Regions from separate parts of the Homo sapiens genome. Here all the other regions are linked to region 1. Evidence: promoter capture Hi-C in 16 types of primary human blood cells and fetal thymus (Javierre and others, 2016). All regions are on one chromosome and are shown on one strand. The core of a region is centred on a gene start or on the middle of the fragment in contact, and the rest is flanking DNA. Distances in the headings are between cores, read along the strand shown.

The links. Contacts are between HindIII fragments. The CHiCAGO score rates a contact against its expected background, and 5 or more counts as called.
Region 2: a fragment that was not itself captured here is called in contact with the fragment with the promoter of C21orf91-OT1 in region 1 in 3 of 17 cell types (total CD4 T cells, activated CD4 T cells and total B cells); the score reaches 6.7 in total CD4 T cells.
Region 3: a contact is called between a fragment that was not itself captured here and the fragment with the promoter of C21orf91-OT1 in region 1, in 8 of 17 cell types (activated CD4 T cells, naive CD8 T cells, total CD4 T cells and 5 more). The highest score is 10.6, in activated CD4 T cells.
Region 4: a fragment that was not itself captured here is called in contact with the fragment with the promoter of C21orf91-OT1 in region 1 in 8 of 17 cell types (activated CD4 T cells, naive CD8 T cells, total CD4 T cells and 5 more); the score reaches 15.3 in activated CD4 T cells.

Annotation. Positions count from the first base shown.
Region 1 is chr21:17,789,909-17,793,758 of GRCh38, forward strand. C21orf91-OT1 (C21orf91 overlapping transcript 1) reads right to left here and starts at 2,601. Exons shown (of 4, transcript NR_038871.1): 1 at 2,569-2,601. C21orf91 (chromosome 21 open reading frame 91) reads right to left here. Exons shown (of 5, transcript NM_001100420.2): 5 at 1-3,673. The coding sequence ends at 3,507. The region is part of intron 2 of LOC124900465 (a long non-coding RNA gene); the gene reads left to right. The HindIII fragment of the contact is 3,892 bases long and covers 392-3,850 here.
Region 2 is chr21:17,860,740-17,864,876 of GRCh38, forward strand. All of the region lies in intron 1 of LINC03147 (long intergenic non-protein coding RNA 3147), which reads right to left. The region is part of intron 2 of LOC124900465 (a long non-coding RNA gene); the gene reads left to right. Among named protein-coding and RNA genes, the nearest start is that of LINC03147, 23 kb to the right of the region's middle. The HindIII fragment of the contact is 378 bases long and covers 1,915-2,292 here.
Region 3 is chr21:17,880,965-17,885,106 of GRCh38, forward strand. The region is part of intron 1 of LINC03147 (long intergenic non-protein coding RNA 3147); the gene reads right to left. All of the region lies in intron 2 of LOC124900465 (a long non-coding RNA gene), which reads left to right. Among named protein-coding and RNA genes, the nearest start is that of LINC03147, 2.6 kb to the right of the region's middle. The HindIII fragment of the contact is 6,627 bases long and covers 1-4,142 here.
Region 4 is chr21:17,704,259-17,708,219 of GRCh38, forward strand. No RefSeq gene overlaps it. Among named protein-coding and RNA genes, the nearest start is that of C21orf91-OT1, 86 kb to the right of the region's middle. The HindIII fragment of the contact is 8,139 bases long and covers 1-3,961 here.

The sequences.
Region 1 (3,850 bases), core at 1,351-3,850:
CACCAACGTAAAAGTTAAAAATACAATCATACACTGAAACGGCATCAATTATCTTTGCCTTACATCTGAACAAAAAGTATTAACTTTTTTATAGCGTATTACACTTCTTAATAAGCACTTAGTAACAACATTTGTCAGTAAATGAACTGGCATACATCAGAAAAAGTTGACAATAGAAGAATTTTACATGGTACCATTTCAAATTTTCATGTACAAGTAACCCACTTTATGGTCACTAACCTGAACCTCCTAATAAGCTACACAAATAATTTACTCTTTAAAAATTCCTACTTTAGAGCATTTACATTTTATAATTTAATAATGAAAGCAGATTCTTCCAAAACAAAACAAAACCCAAACTGGGAAACATTAAAACACAAATAGATCTAAAAGCTTACTTTAAAAAAACTACAAAAATGGACTAACAAGCCTTACCAGTGTAAACACTAAGGTAAAAAATATATAAACAACATAAAGAAAACACAAAACCATTTTCAGTCATAAATATAGTAAAATGAAAAACCAAATCTCAAGATGCCTGTCAAGATATATTTGACTATATATTTTGACTATATTTCTGAAATCACTAACATGAACTTGACATTGAAAAAATAATCCTTAAATGTATATAAAAATGGGCACTTTGTGGTAAAATGAACATGTGTTTTGAAAAACTAAGAATGTGTCTTTGCTCCACCATTGTGCATAGTCAACGACACAACAAAACACTATTCTGCTGCCTGAATCATCTATTACTGGAGTCTCAAGTGCATGCCTTTTAAAAAAGACTAATTTAGATATTAATATGAGGATCAAAGGATAAGATGATAATCTCAAAGTAAAACATAATTGATTTTTAGCTTCATTATAAGGCTGAACTTTAAAGAGAACAACCTGTGTGGTCAAAAACACTTTTCTAATTTTTAAAACTCAATTTAACGTGTCAAATTATAAAACTGAACGTGAAAAAGATTTGTCTTATCTCACTCCCCTTAATCATATAAGCTCTGAAAATTTAGTAATGGATGACTGGCAGTCTGTTTTGCCACTTTTTAAACAGTAGTACATGAGATATGCTTCAAAACATTCTCAAAAATTACTAACAACTGTAGAGAATAGCCAAGTGTGGAAAACAATATTTGTGATATTTCATGTTCTCTTGTTAGAACTCAACTCTGTACCTGATACTTATATTTGCATACACAGTAATTGCATATTTGATTAAGAAAACTAACATAGGACTAAATTATAAGTTTACCAAACATTTGGATAAACTGCTGTGCAAAATACTTCAACAAAAAGTTTTTTTTACTAGGAACTCATCCAAATAAAGTAGTGTGAGTACCAGCACCACAAAGTTTTTTTTAAGAGCACCTCTCCTTTTTAGAGCTTAAGTAGAAATATCTAAATGGAATAAATCAGAGTCCCACTTAAGACCTTAGCACATGCACACGTTCATCCACTTGTTCCGTACTCATTAGCAAAGCTATGTATATTTGTCAGAAAACTCCTTTCTTTGGATAACACTGTTGTATTCAGGACTGCAACTTATGGCTCATATTCTGGAAATATGCTACTATTGATATCAAATGCAACATATCCCCAACTTTTATGACTGTCCCTAACTCATCTAAACACAAACCCAAATGTGTGCAAACACACTGGCTGGTAACAATCTTACTGAATTACGCCAAAAAAGAGTAAAGTCAAATTTGAAAATGTGGGAACAATTAAGCACTAAGATATTAATCAGGAAATGTATTTACCCAGCTTGTAAGTTTGAATATTTTGATATTGCACACATTTAATTTAAAGCTCATCAAAACTAAGGCAATGCATCCATACTCCCTGGATTTTAAATTCATTTTGCATGACTTAAAGAATTGAGAGAAATCGAAAGCATCTTTCAAAAATTCCCTCCAAAAAGTAATGTTATACTTCAAAGAAAAACAAAATCAACAGATATCAATTAATACCCTCAGGCCAATTTAACACGTCAGCATTACAAAAAGTTGTTTTCAATTAAACTGAAGTGTTTCTTTGCTTAAATACTTTCTTGTGTTCAACAACAAAATCTGACCCAAGCCAGGGTAGGCTGCCAAATTTAAGGCAAATGTCATTTATATCTTTATGCATGAAGCTGCCACGTTACTGGGCTTTTCAGCAGATACTTTCAAGCAAGGATCTACCTCATAAGTACATTCTAAACATGAGTTAAAAACAGAATTTAGAGCCCATTTTAATTCTGCATTGGTTATAGCCTTTACTGTAATACATTATTAAAATTTATCTAGCTGTTTGGCACAATCTGTTAGATAAAAACTCTTTGGAAGCATCATAGGCAACTTACGAGAACATTCTCTTAATACATAGGTTTATTTTTTTTTAATTAGGAGTTTTGCTTTTCTTCTGTAGAACAATCCTATATTTCTCTATAGAGTCTAAAGTTTAGAAAAATACCTCACAATGCTTTCTTTGAGCACTAAGTTCAATGATGGTGATAATACAATTTGGACAGTTTAAGTATTCTTGAAACTTTACCCAAAGTGGCACACAAAATAATCTTACTTTTTTTTTTCAAAGACAGAACAATTTCACAGCACACTCAATTTGAAGATAGACATTATATTTGAATTGGAAGTGAGGCTTGACTTACTCTGTCCAAATTCTAATGCATCACAGTCACTGGTGTGAAGCTAATAATGAAAGAAGCAAGAGGAGGCTTTCATTTCTATGGAGACAAATTGACATAGAAGCCAGATTAGTCTTTTCTTCCTGAACTAAGAACTGCTTTTGTTAGAAAACAAAATAATGTATTGTATTTACCTGAATACTGCTTTAAAAAGTTATTAATTCTTCTTTTACAAGAGGTATTAGAAATTAAAACAACTCAGATTTCTAATCCAAAATATATTTATCTTTGGAAAGCAAGGTAACCGTTGTGAAAACATTGTATTAAGAGAATAAAATGCAGTGACCTGAAATATGGGTGAACATATTCACACATGATAATGTAAATAAATATACAGAACCACTCAAATACACATTTATAAAGAGAATGGCAAAGTACCTAAAATAGCATTTTCACATATAAAATTTTTATATTAAAATATTGCTCATAATAAATAAGAGGTGATATGAATTCCATTTCCCTCTTAAAAATTATCTCTAGTAGTTTACACTAAGGAGTTAATCTGTTGTTTTGACAGGTGAATTAAAATGTTTAATAAAATGACACTGTAACAGTATATTTAAGTAGTCACATGTGATAAAATTTGTTTAGTAATTCTGGGAAAAAAGAGTCCCCAAATGAGCCAAAATGATTAGCCCTAGAAGACTAGAGTATAATGATCTGCTTTATTTGACAAAGATGTTAAATACTGCCTTATGTTTGGCAAATTTAATGACCATAAAAAAACGGACCACAACTTTCTTCAAACTTCTTCAAAGTTTGCATGTCTGGGAGACCAATAAAGGGCAGGGCATACGAAGTAAGTCTGTTTAGGTCAGTTGTTTATGGGTAGGTGCGACTTCATTCCTGTTCGCCCTACTTGCAGACATGGTAACTTAGAACAGTTCTTCAGAAGCTGTTCGATGGCAACGTGGCGGACATGGAGCTGTGAGGCCAAAGAATCTTTTTCTTGCACTTGGTGAGTTAACTCTTCAAAAACTTCTGTAAAAGATTTAAAAACTTTCATTTTTAGTATGCAGAAAGCCGGTGCTATGATTTATATTTCAAGAACTCTAACTGAAATCTATGCATTGGGCAAAGTGTCACAATGAAACTGATTTGATACCAAGGAAACAGTTCTGTTCTCTACAAAGCATATCAGTTCTGATCATCCTAGGC
Region 2 (4,137 bases), core at 854-3,353, 70 kb after region 1:
TCCAGGTAGCAGGCTTCAGAGAGAGAATCAATTGTATATATTTCTTACCAGACTTAAGATCTGTGTGGATGTTAATTCTGGTTGGCTCTTCCTGAATTCCAAAAGGGAGGAAGAACTAATGAGGCATGTTCGAACCCTGCTTCCCGTCATGGCCTGAACTAGTTTTTCAGGTTAATTTTGGAATGCCCTTGGCCAAGAGGAGAGGTCTATTCAAATAGTTGGGGGTGGGTCTTAGAATTTTATTTTTGTTTACAGTAAGAAGAAAATAAATCTGCTTAAATCAGGATTGCCAGGGTGTAGAAGAGTACAATTTAAAAAATGGTTGTCAGGGATGATGTCAATGAGAATGTCACATTTGAGTAATAGCCTGAAAGGAGGCATTAAAGTAGCCTTGTGCATCTCCAAGGGAAGACTATTCTAGGCAGAAAGGACCAGGGGAAAGATTGGGACCTTAACTGGCCCCATGGAGTGGAGTGAACCAGGGTGATACTAGTAGGAGATGAAGTCAGAGGTATAGAGTGGAGCCTGATTGGATTATTTCCCACAAAGATGAAAGATAGAGAATTATAAGCAGTGGAAAATTAGAAACCAACATTGAAGTTAGACACGGTCAGAAGTCCTTCATCAGCAAGTGGAAGTGGATTCCACTAATATCCAGGATTAGGTCCACGTCAATTGTGAAGGCAGAAATAAGTTGCATAAATAACTTTATGAACACCCACCTTGCCTCCTCCTGCTGCCACTGTGCTCTTGTGGGGGAATTTCTTCATATCAGTTGACTGAAGAGGAAAACATTTGATTCTTTTAAAAGGATGGCTCTGCATATTTGTGTACCAACCAGAAATAGATTGCTGAGGCATTACTTTCACCCTCAGGAGTGGTCCTGAAGGACAGTCAAAATGGAAATTCTCCCAGTGAAAAGAAATGTAAACAATTTATCTTATTGTCCACTTTGTCAGTTAGTAGAAAGCCCCAGGTAGGTATCTGTACTGATTGATGGGCAGTGGTTAATGGTATAATCAGATTGTCAGGGAACTAAAAGAAGCAGAATTGTAAGATTGATCACAAAGTGTTTGGGGAAGACACTTACGTATGGACCCCTCTGAATGGGGTTTCTAAGTGTGACTAAATATAGCCTATGCAACTGACCAACAAAAGGCTACAGTGAATGAGGGTTTTAATTATCAGGTGGACAAGATGACTCACTATTTATGTCAGTCGGCTTTTTTCTGATTTCCTTAGTACTTGATTAAAGTGGATATGGTGACAGACATTAACACATGGACTTTTTCTAAAAAATCTGACCTTGTGTACTTTCCAGAAACAGCAATTAACCCTGAGCTTGTAATACAATACCATGCCCTAGGGAGGGCAGCGAGACTTCTATCAAGGAGGAGGCTATGACACTTTAGATTTTAATTTGCCTTTCTTCCTAATTTTGCTTCAGTACCACTATACATGGAATGACTATTTTATACACAGTTATGATATTCCACCCAGCCTTTCTCTGATCAAGGAAGTCTATTTTACAGTGAAAAAAAAAGTGAGGCAAAGGGTGATTGACAAGTCTAAGATACCCAAGGCTCAGAAACAGCTATGGCCGATCGGAGTCTCACATATAGGAGAGCTTAGACACAACACCTTGTGACTAGAGGACTGTCTCGTAATATCCTTTTAGCCAAGGATCAGTATACAGTATTATATCTCCCACAAACTGAATACATGCATTTGGAGACAATAGGCTGGAAGTGAGAGTAGAGTTTCTCCCTAAATAGGAGAAAGTGAAATCATTTAATAATCTATTTACAAATGTTTTACCTCCCATCCTCACTCTTTCAGACTTTGAAGATTTTAGTATTGAAGAGAAGAATGTTTCCTTCTGGGATATTTGGCAAATGATTCCTTTAAATTTGAAGCTTAGACTATAGCTTACCCATTCAGAGTTCTTCATGCCACTGAGTAAATGAGCAAAAGGAAGTTATGTTGTTAACTAATTAATCCTGTCAAGGGTTTTACTACACAGTGGGCACAGAGAGAGGCATGATAGTGCTAAAATAATAATCTGAATTTCCTCCTAGTACAGCCATGCCCAATAGTAAAATTTAACAAAAGCTAAAACATCACTTTATAAGCAGAATAATCTATGGCTCAGGTATTATACTTTAGGACTAAGATTCTGAGTCACCTATTGGTTGAAGGGCCACGACTATCTGGAGTGCTGGTTAAAGACAAAGGCACATGGAATAAGTAATGGAGAAGGGCAGTCATAAGTACCTTATTTTATCAACTGAAAGCTTTGGAGTTTATCAAAGCATCCAAGCCTCCCTTTCTTTGTGTGTGTGTGTGTGTGTGTGTGTGTGTGTGTGTGTGTGTTTTAAATTTTTTTATTTTTTATTTATTAATTTATTGTTTTTAGAGATCGTGGGTCACTGCATCCTCCACCTCCTAGGCTCAAGCGATCCTCCACCTCAGCCTCCTGAGTTCCTGGGACTACAGGCACTTGCCAACATGCCTGGCTAATTCTTGTTTTCTTTTTTTAATAGAGACTAGGTTTTGCCATATGGTCTAGTCTGGTCTCCAGCTCCTGGGCTCAAGGGATCCTCCCACCTTGGCCTCCCAAAATGTTGGGATTATAGGGGTGAGCCAGTGTGCCTAGCCACTTCATGAGTCTTTAACTTTTATTCCCCAGCTCTTATCACTCTATAGCAAGCTGTGCTCATCTTCTGAACTTACAACTAGAATTAGCAAATGCCCTAAGAGGAAAAGTCATCCTGACTGTCGGGTTCACCTCTCAGCAATATCCTCCTTTCTTGGATTTTGGCCCATCAAGAGCTCTCAATCTTGGTAGCTTTATGACACATTCAAACATTTTTTTTTTAAATCCTTTTTTTTTTTTTTTTAGTTTTCTCAGTAAGATGGTTAGTCTAAAACAATCTAGTCTGCATTTAGCAAACTCATAAAACCATATTTCTTTTTCTTCATAGCACTTGTCTCAGTTTGCAATTAGAAACTCATTTCTGTGATTATTTGCTAAATATCTGTCTCCCCCACAACACATAATTAGAAACTGTACCCATTTTTGCTCACTGGATTATCTATGGCCTAGCACAGTGCTAGGCACATAGTAGATACTTAATATTTACTGAGCCAATTAATGAATGAACCTTGGGCAAGTTGCTTATTATTAACAATAGCAAGCACCTGTTAAGTGCAAAACACTAGGGTCAAGTTATGGCACTTAGAGTCTAAAGACTTTTGCTCTTATATCCTACCATTTATCCTTATCAGTGAAACAACACAAAATGTTTTGCCTTCAGGATCAAGGCTTTTTCAGATATAGATTTTAAATGGCTCAGAAAGGAATGAATATTTGAAGAAAGAATTGTACATAGATTTAACTGGAAGGGAGGAGCCCAAGGAATTTAACACAGAAATGGTTAGTGGCACAGACCCTAAATCACAGTCACTCAGAGAATGGGCACTGATGATGTGAAAAAGTTAGGGTTGGCCAGGTGCGGTGGTTCACGCCTGTAATCCCAGCACTTTGAGAAGCCAAAGTGGGTGGATCGCTTGAGTTTAGGGGTTCAAGACCAGCCTGGGTAACATGGCAAAAACCTCTTCTCTACTAAAAATACAAAAAATTAGCCAGGTGTAGTGGCACACACCTGAAGTCCTAGCTACTTGGGTGGCTGAGGTGGGAGAATTGATTGAGCCTGGGGAAGTAAAGGCTGCACAAGTGCGCCATGATTGTACCACTGCACTCCAGCTTGGATTAGGGGACTGAGACCCTGTGTCCAAAAAAAGAAAAAGTTAGCGTTAAGTGCCTGGAAAAAGGCTACATGGTGTCAGCGTCTAAGTATCAACTGAATAGAGTTTAAACTGAGTCAATACAGTGGGAAAATGGCCTGTGATGGCCCTAAAGAGGGGATAAGGTGGCCAGGTGTGGTGGCTCATGCCTGTAATCCTAGCACTTTGGGAGGCCGAGGCGGGCGGATTGCCTGAGCTCAGGAGTTCAAGACCAGCCTAGGCAATACAGTGAAACCCTGTCTCTACTAAAATACAAAGAAAAAATCAGCCAATTGTGGCGGCATGCACCTGTAGTCCCAGCTACTCTGGAGGCTGAGACAGAAGAATTGC
Region 3 (4,142 bases), core at 846-3,345, 91 kb after region 1:
CAGATCAGCAGATAATTGTGCCTTTGGAAAATGAAAATCAAAATCAACACTCCTGGTATAGCTTCCCCATCTCTATAGATTCTAGTACTTACTCTCTGCCTGCTGGTTTCTCAGGCATGAGAAAAGGCTTTTTGACTCCAAGTCATAACACTAAAATACTCATAGTTCTGGCTACTATTGGATAATAAAGTTGGCAGTGCTATTCAGGAATCATATCTGAGTGTGGTTTCTATGATGGGACCAATCAACTGTATATTTACTACACGTTTTGGAGCCCTCTGTAAAACAAATGCTTGTCCTGCAATTTCTCCTTATTACAGAATGTATTCTGAATAGGTAATTTGGGGTTTCCCCTTCAAATTCACTCCTCCTTACCCAAACACATTCGCTGAGTATGTGTTTGTGTTTGGGTATGTGTGTGTGTATGTGTGTTTATCTACTCTCTGAGTCATGTCTCATCCTAACTTTGCCTTATTAGCAAATCTGTTGTTTTCAGCAGAATGGGTTAACAGACTCGTAGCCCTCTGCAGATCCGCAAAGGAGACAGTCTCTCTTAGATGTTACCTCCTAAGTTCTCTGGCCTGTCCCTGGTGTGTGCTCACTGACTGTTCTGAGGTTATTCCTCAGCCTATCTGCAATGGAATTCCTTCAACACAAGCAGTGATGAGAGCTGGCAGCCTTAACCTGTGCACAGTATCTTTGCCATACATTTTGATAAGAAGCATGTCTCCTTGGAGATCTTGATAAGGTAAATATTATCTTGAACTCATGGCCTGAGTATAGCTGCCTGATTATTAGGGATTGCAGGCATGAGCCACTGTGCCCAGCTATGAGGTAAATATTATCAAGAACACTTCTTCACTTAGAAATATTAAAAATTATTAGGTGTCTGCATGTTCTCATAAGTGGGAGTTGAACAATGAGAACACATGGACACCGGGAGAAGAGCATCACACACGGGGGGCCTGTTAGGGGGTCAGGAGCTAGGGGAGGGATAGCATTAGGGGAAATACCTAATGTAGATGACGGGTTGATGGGTGCAACAAACCACCATGGCATGTGTAGACCTGTATAACAAACCTGCACATTCTGCACATGTATCCCAGAACTTAAAGTATAATAAAAAAAAAATTATTAGGTGTCAACGATATACCAGGCCCCATGTAAGGTACTGGTGGTGTGTTACATACAGATACAGGAGCCAGTCATTTCTGTTTGTCTTTTTTTTTTTTTTTTCAGAGATGGAGTCTCGCTTTGTTGCCCAGGCTGGAGTGCAGTGGCACAATCTGGGCTCACTGCCAGCTCTACCTACCTGATTCATGCCATTCTCCTGCCTCAGCCTCCTGAGTAACTGGGACTACAGGTGCCTGCCACTATGCCTGGCTAATTTTTTTGTATTTTTAGTAGAGACAGGGTTTCACCATGTTAGCCAGGATGGTCTCGATCTCCTGACCTTGTGATCTGCCCGCCTTGGCCTCCCATAGCGCTGGGATTACAGGCGTGAGCCACCGCGCCTGGCCTCTGTTTGTCTTTTATAATCTTTCCATCTTCTCACCTATCCTCCCTCACCTTTCTGAATGGGATTGCAATGATTTATGACAAGCACACACAACAAACAAATGGAGACTGAGAAACTCAGTCATGACCAAAGGAGGCATTAATAAGAGTACGGAGTCAAGAAAAAACTTTTGGCCCAGCGTGGTGGCTCACACCTGTAATTCCAGCACTTTGGGAGGCCAAGGTGGGTGGATCACTTGAGCTCAGGAGTTCAAGACCAGCCTGGGCACTATGGAGAAACCCTGTCACTACAAAAATACAAAAATTAGCCAGATGTGGTGGTGCACACCTGTAGTCCCAGCTACTCGGGAGGCTAAGGTGGGGTGATTGCTTGAGTCCAACAGGTGAGGCTTCAGTGAGTCAAGATCGCTCCACTGCACTCCGGCTTGAGTGACAGAGGGAGATCTTTCTCAAAAAAAAAAAAAAAAAAAAAGCAAATAGCAAGAAAGAAAGAAAAAATCTTTCAGACCGTAAAGGCCTATGTGGTTATTATACTTGTGCTGACATTAGGCTTTGGGTTTCCTGGCAATCAAAGCAAGCAGAAAGACCTATTGCTCTTTTTCAGAAAGGAAAGAGGATTTCAGTTCCTCAGGGAAGGCAAAACTGTTTGTTTTTAGCACTAAGTTCTGAAAAGCATTTTCAATGTGGTGCTTTATATAAGGGGCACTGAACAAGATAATAGACAACATGCTTGACTTCTTCCAAATAGCAAGCACATGAATGGAATCTATATGACGACTTCTTGTGTTGTCTTTAGATAATAGTGATATAACCTTAAAATGCATCTCAATGGATGCGATTATGTGGGGACTTGGCTCTGACGAAACGAAGCTGCCTAGACAAGATGAATTTTATCCATAGATAAAATTCCAAGAACCAGTCCAAGAAAAAGAGTTGAACAAATCCAGTTTTTCCTTGGGAAACGTTCATCTTCACTATCAGCAGTTTCTTAGCCATTTGAGTGCCCCTTTCTGGCTCCAATACAGTTGGCGGTCTTTTGTTTAATTTTGGCATCTTGCTCTCAGCTAGCTGTTATTATAATTCTCATAGCAGTCATAAATGCCATTGGAGCCCTAAGAGTTAAGAGTTTTGGACTTGCTGAGTTTTGAAAAGTTTAAAATTCCTTTAAAAAATAATCGTTGAACTCTTCAGAGTTTTTTATATGCTAATATATATTGTGACTCTGTAAGAGAGAAAAATAATGTTCAGTATTTCTTCATCATATTTGATCATGGAACCCCTTAGTCATGTATCAGATACCTGTTGGGAAATGCTGTTGAAAGTTATTCTTTGTTAATGACTTTTAATGTAGACATTACAAGATCCCTTGCAGGGATATTGGCACTTTAGTATAGGATTAATGATGGTCAACAAATGTTTGAAATTGAAAGCTATGAATTTTTAGTAAAGCATCCTTGGTGCCCTGGCAAGTAGATGAAATATATTTGGGCAGGTGGAACTTTCTAGAATCCTCATGTCATACCACGTATTTATAAGACCAGCCCTCACAATCTTGGTCATGGCCTAAAAGTCTTTCTTCATCTATAAAATCAAGATTGTATTCTTCAGCTTAATCTTTGAATATCAACTGAATAAAATAATCAAAATACTGTTGAGACATTTGAAATGTAATCATTTTAAACTACCACTTAAAAAGAATAGAGCATAATAATAATCTTTGGGCAAAATTTATAAAGAATACGCTAGAGAATGGCTTTCTTTTTTTTTTTTTGAGACGGAGTCTCGCTCTGTCGCCCAGGCTGGAGTGCAGTGGCGTGATCTCGGCTCACTGCAACCTCCGCCTCCCGGGTTCAAAAGCGATTCTCCTGCCTCAGCCTTCCGAATAGCTGGAATTACAGGCACACGGACGCCACCACGCCCGGCTAATTTTTTTGTATTTTTAGTAGAGACGGGGTTTCACTGTGTTAGCCAGGATGGTCTCAATCTCCTGACCTTGTGATCTGCCTGCCTCGGCCTCCCAAAGTGCTGGGATTACAGGCGTGAGCCACCGCGCCTGGCCGATAATGGCTTTCAAAAATGCACGTTACTCTCACTATGACACAAAATAATGTGAATAAACATTTTAATAGCAAAGGCATTTTAAAACAAAACAGTTAATTAGGGGCATCACGCATGGTATAATTCTTTAAAGGTAGACATTGCTTAAGACCTTGAGACTGGATAGAGTGAAAAGATATCTCATCTTTTACATCTTAGAAATAAATATTTGTAACCATCTGGAGTCTATTTTCTGGATTAAAGAGAAGAGCAATAATCACACAAATTTATCTTTGAAATGTCACTTCTAACATTTGCTAGTTGAACAATACTATACCTTCCCCCCTCCATTACATGGTCAAATATATTCTCCCTAAAAATATAATTTTAACATCTTGAAACAAAAGCAGTTTCTATTCTCTAAGCTAAAACATTAGTCACCAGAGAATGGAATTCTGTCTGAAGATTAGGTTTCTCTATCATGCTCCAGTGAGACTAAACTGAACATTCTTAACTCTTCTACTCTTCTGTGCATTTGCCTGATTATTATGTTTACCTGCAGGGAATTCTTCCCAACACATGATGAA
Region 4 (3,961 bases), core at 797-3,296, 86 kb before region 1:
ATTGCAGCACCCACTCAGACAGACAGAGCAGCATGTGGAGGCTTGCATCACGAACTTTTGCTCCAGAATGACTGCAGGAATACATTAGGAAAGCCAAGAGAACCAGCAGACCCTCTGAAGGAAGTGGATTGCTCCTGCAGGACTTAGGAGATACCCCAAATACTATGAGTGCCCAAACTGTGGAAGCGAGAAAGGAAGATCATGCACCCCAGAACACATACCCCTGCACAAGAGAACCTGAAGGCTTAGATTATGGGAGAAGATTCTGACCTTACCTGGAGCTGAGTCAATTTAGAGAGCCGAGTGAAATACAGGGGTAGAGGAAGCAGCAGGAAAAGTCCTGTGGGCTTGTTGGGTTCCCTAGCAAGCCATTTCTGCCCTGCCTCACAGGGGCCCTTGGGAAGAGTGGCCAGAGGCACTGGGAAAAGGCCACAGGGAGAAGAAAATCTCCAGCTGAAATTTGCTAACAATATGAACTGATTGAGAAGCCCCCTGGCCAGAACTCAGGGGAGGACATGAATCCAGTGTGCGGACTCCACAGGCAGGTGAAGAATAAAAGCCCTAATTGCTTTCACAGCTGGAAAGTGGGTAGCCTGGGGCAAGTTCTCAGTCCTGTTCACCCACTGCCTGGAAACACACTTGGTGCTGTTACTGGGGGCACGGTGGGAGTGAGACTGGCCCTTTGGGTTGTGTGGGAGCTGGGTGAGGCCTATGACTGCTGGCTTTTCCCCACTTCCCTGACAAGTTGCATGACCCAGTAGAGGCAGCCATTATCCTCCTAGGAACATAACTGTTGATCTGGGAATCTCAACCTCATCCCCCACAGCAGCTGCAGCAAGACCGCTCAAGGAGAGTCTGAGGTCAGACACGCCTGCCACTGCCTCTACCTGATGGTCCTTCCCTACCTACCCTGGTAACTGAAGACAAAGGGCATATACTCTTGGGAGTTCAAGGGGGTGGTGGTGCCCCCCACCACCTGTTCCTCCCCATTCTACTACCGCTGATGCTCTTGAAATCACCACCTTCCGCAGGAGGACAACCAACCCAAAAATAGTGCATTAAGCAACCAAAGCCAAGGACCCTCACAGAGCCCATTTTACTCCCCCACCACCTCCACCAGAGCAGATGCTGGTATCAATGGCAGAAAGACTCACAGATGGTTCACATCAGAGGATTCTGTGCAGACAACCTCCAGTACCAGCCCAGAGCCTGGTAGACTTGCTGGGTTGCTAGATCCAGAAGAGAGATAACAATCTTTACAGCTTGGCTCTCAGGAAGCCACATCCCTAGGAAAAGGGGGAGAGTACTACATCAAGGGAACACTCCATGGGACAAAACAATTTGAACAACAGCCTTTGGCCTTAGACCTCTGTGACAAATGAGAAGAAACCAGAAAACCAACTCTGGCAATATGACAAAACAATGTTCTTCACCACCCAAGAAAAAATCACACTAGCCCACCAGCAATGGATTCCAACCAAGAAGAAGTCCCTGATTTACCTGAAAAAGAATTCAGGAGGTTAGTTGTTAAGCTAATCAGGGAGGCAACAGAGAAAGGTGAAGCCCAATCTAAGGAAATAAAAAAAAAAGATACAAGAAGTGATGGGAGAAATACTCAATGAAATAGATAGCATAAATAAAAAATCAAAATTTCAGGAAACAATAGACACACTTATAGAAATGCTAAATGTTCTGGAAAGTCTCAGCAATAGAATTCAACAAGCAGAAGAAAGAACTTCAGAGCTTGAAGACAAGTTCTTTGAATTAACCAAATCCAACAAAGACAAAGAAGAAAGAATAAGAAAAATTGAACAAAGCCTCCATGAGGTCTGGGTTCACGTTAAACTACCAACCCTAAGAATAATTGGCATTCCTGAGGAAGAAGAGGAACCTAGAAGTTTGGAAAACATATTTGGGAGAAAAATTGAGGAAAACTTCCCTAGCCTTGCTAGAGACCTAGGCATCCAAATACAAGAAGCACAAAGAACACCTGGGAAATTCATTGCACAAAGATCATCACCTAGACACATTGTCATCAGATTACCTAAAGTTAAGATGAAGGAAAGAATCTTAAGAACTGTGAGTCAAAAGCGCCAGGAAACCTATAAAGGAAAACCTATCAGATTAACAGCAGATTTCTCAGCAGAAATCCTACAAGCTAGAAGACATTGGGGACCTATCTTCAGCCTCCTCAAACAAAACAATTATCAGCCAAGAATTTGTATCCAGTGAAACTAATCTTCATAAATGAAGGAAAAATGGTATTTTTTAGACAAACAAATGCTGAAAGAATTCGCCACTACCAAGCCAGCACTACAAGAACAGCTAAAAGGAGCTCTAAATCTTGAAACAAATCCTGGAAACACATGAAAACAGAACCCCTTTAGAGCATAAATCTCATAGGACCTATAAAACAAAAAGGCAATATAAAAAAAAAACCCTCAAAAAACAAAAAAACCAAGGTATACAGGGAACAAATAGTATGATGAATGAAATGGTAACTCCCATCTCAATACTAATGTTGAATGTAAATGGCCTAAATGCTCCCCTTAAAAGATACAGAATTGCAGAATGGATAAGAACTCACCAACCATCTGCTGCCTTCAAGAGACTCACCTAACACATAAGGACTCACATAAACTTAAAGGGATGGAAAAAGACATTCCATGCAAATGGACACCAAAAGTGAGCAAGAGTAGCTATTCCTATATCAGACAGAACAAACTTTAAAGCAACAGCAGTTAAAAAAGACAAAGAGGGACATTATATAAATGATAAAATGTCTTGTTCAACAGGAAAATATTACAATCCTAAATATATATGCACCTAACACTGGAAGTCCCTAATTTATAAAACAATTACTAATAGACTTAAGAAATGAGATAGCAACACAATAATAGTTGGGGACTTCAGTACTCCACTGACAGCACTAGACAGGTCATCAAGACAGAAATTCAACAAAGAAACAATCAGTGTAAACTATACCCTGGAACAAATGGATTTGACAGATTTATACAGAACATTCTACCCAACAACCACAGAATATACATTTTATTCAACAGCACATGGAACTTTCTCCAAGATAGACCATATAATAGGCCATAAAATGAGTCTCAATAAATTTAAGAAAAACACTCTCTCAGACCATAGTGGAATAAAACTAGAAATCAACTCCAAAAGGAACCACCTTCAAAACCATGCAAATACATGGAAATTAAATAACCTGTACCTGAATGATCATTGGGTCAAAAATGAAATCTAGATGGACATTAGAAAATTCTTCGAGCTGAATGGCAAGAGTGACGCAAATTATCAAAACCCCTGGGATACAGCAAAGTGGTGCTAAGAGGAAACTTCATAGCCATAAATGCCTCCATCAAGAAGTCCGAAAGAATACAATCTAAGGTCACACCTCAAGGAACTAAAGAAACAAGAACAAACCAAACCCAAACCTAGCAGAAGAAAGGAAATAACCAAGATCAGAACAGAACTAAATGAAATTGAAACAATCAATACAAAATATAAATAAAACAAAAAGCTGGTTCTTTGAAAAGATAAATAAAATTGATAGACCATTAGCAAGCAAAGACTCTATTTTTATGTCCAACTTTTATTTTAAGTTCAGGGGTACATGTGCAGGATGTGCAAATTTGTTACATAGTTAAATATGTGCCATGGTGATTAGCTGCACAGATCATCCCATCACCTAGGTATTAGCCTAGTGTTCCATTATTGGAACACTAAGCATGTGGGAGTTATTTATATCCTACTGCTCAAGGTCATTGCCAAGGTCTGATTGATTGCAAAAATTCAAAAAATTTCAACCTCAGGCATAAATGGGTTAAGCCCAGTACCCTTTACCTATTCTTCCTGATGCTCTCCCTCCCCCCCCTTCCCCCAACCCTCCAACAGGCCCCCGTGTGTGTTGTTTCCCCCATGTGTCCATGCGTTCTCATCATTC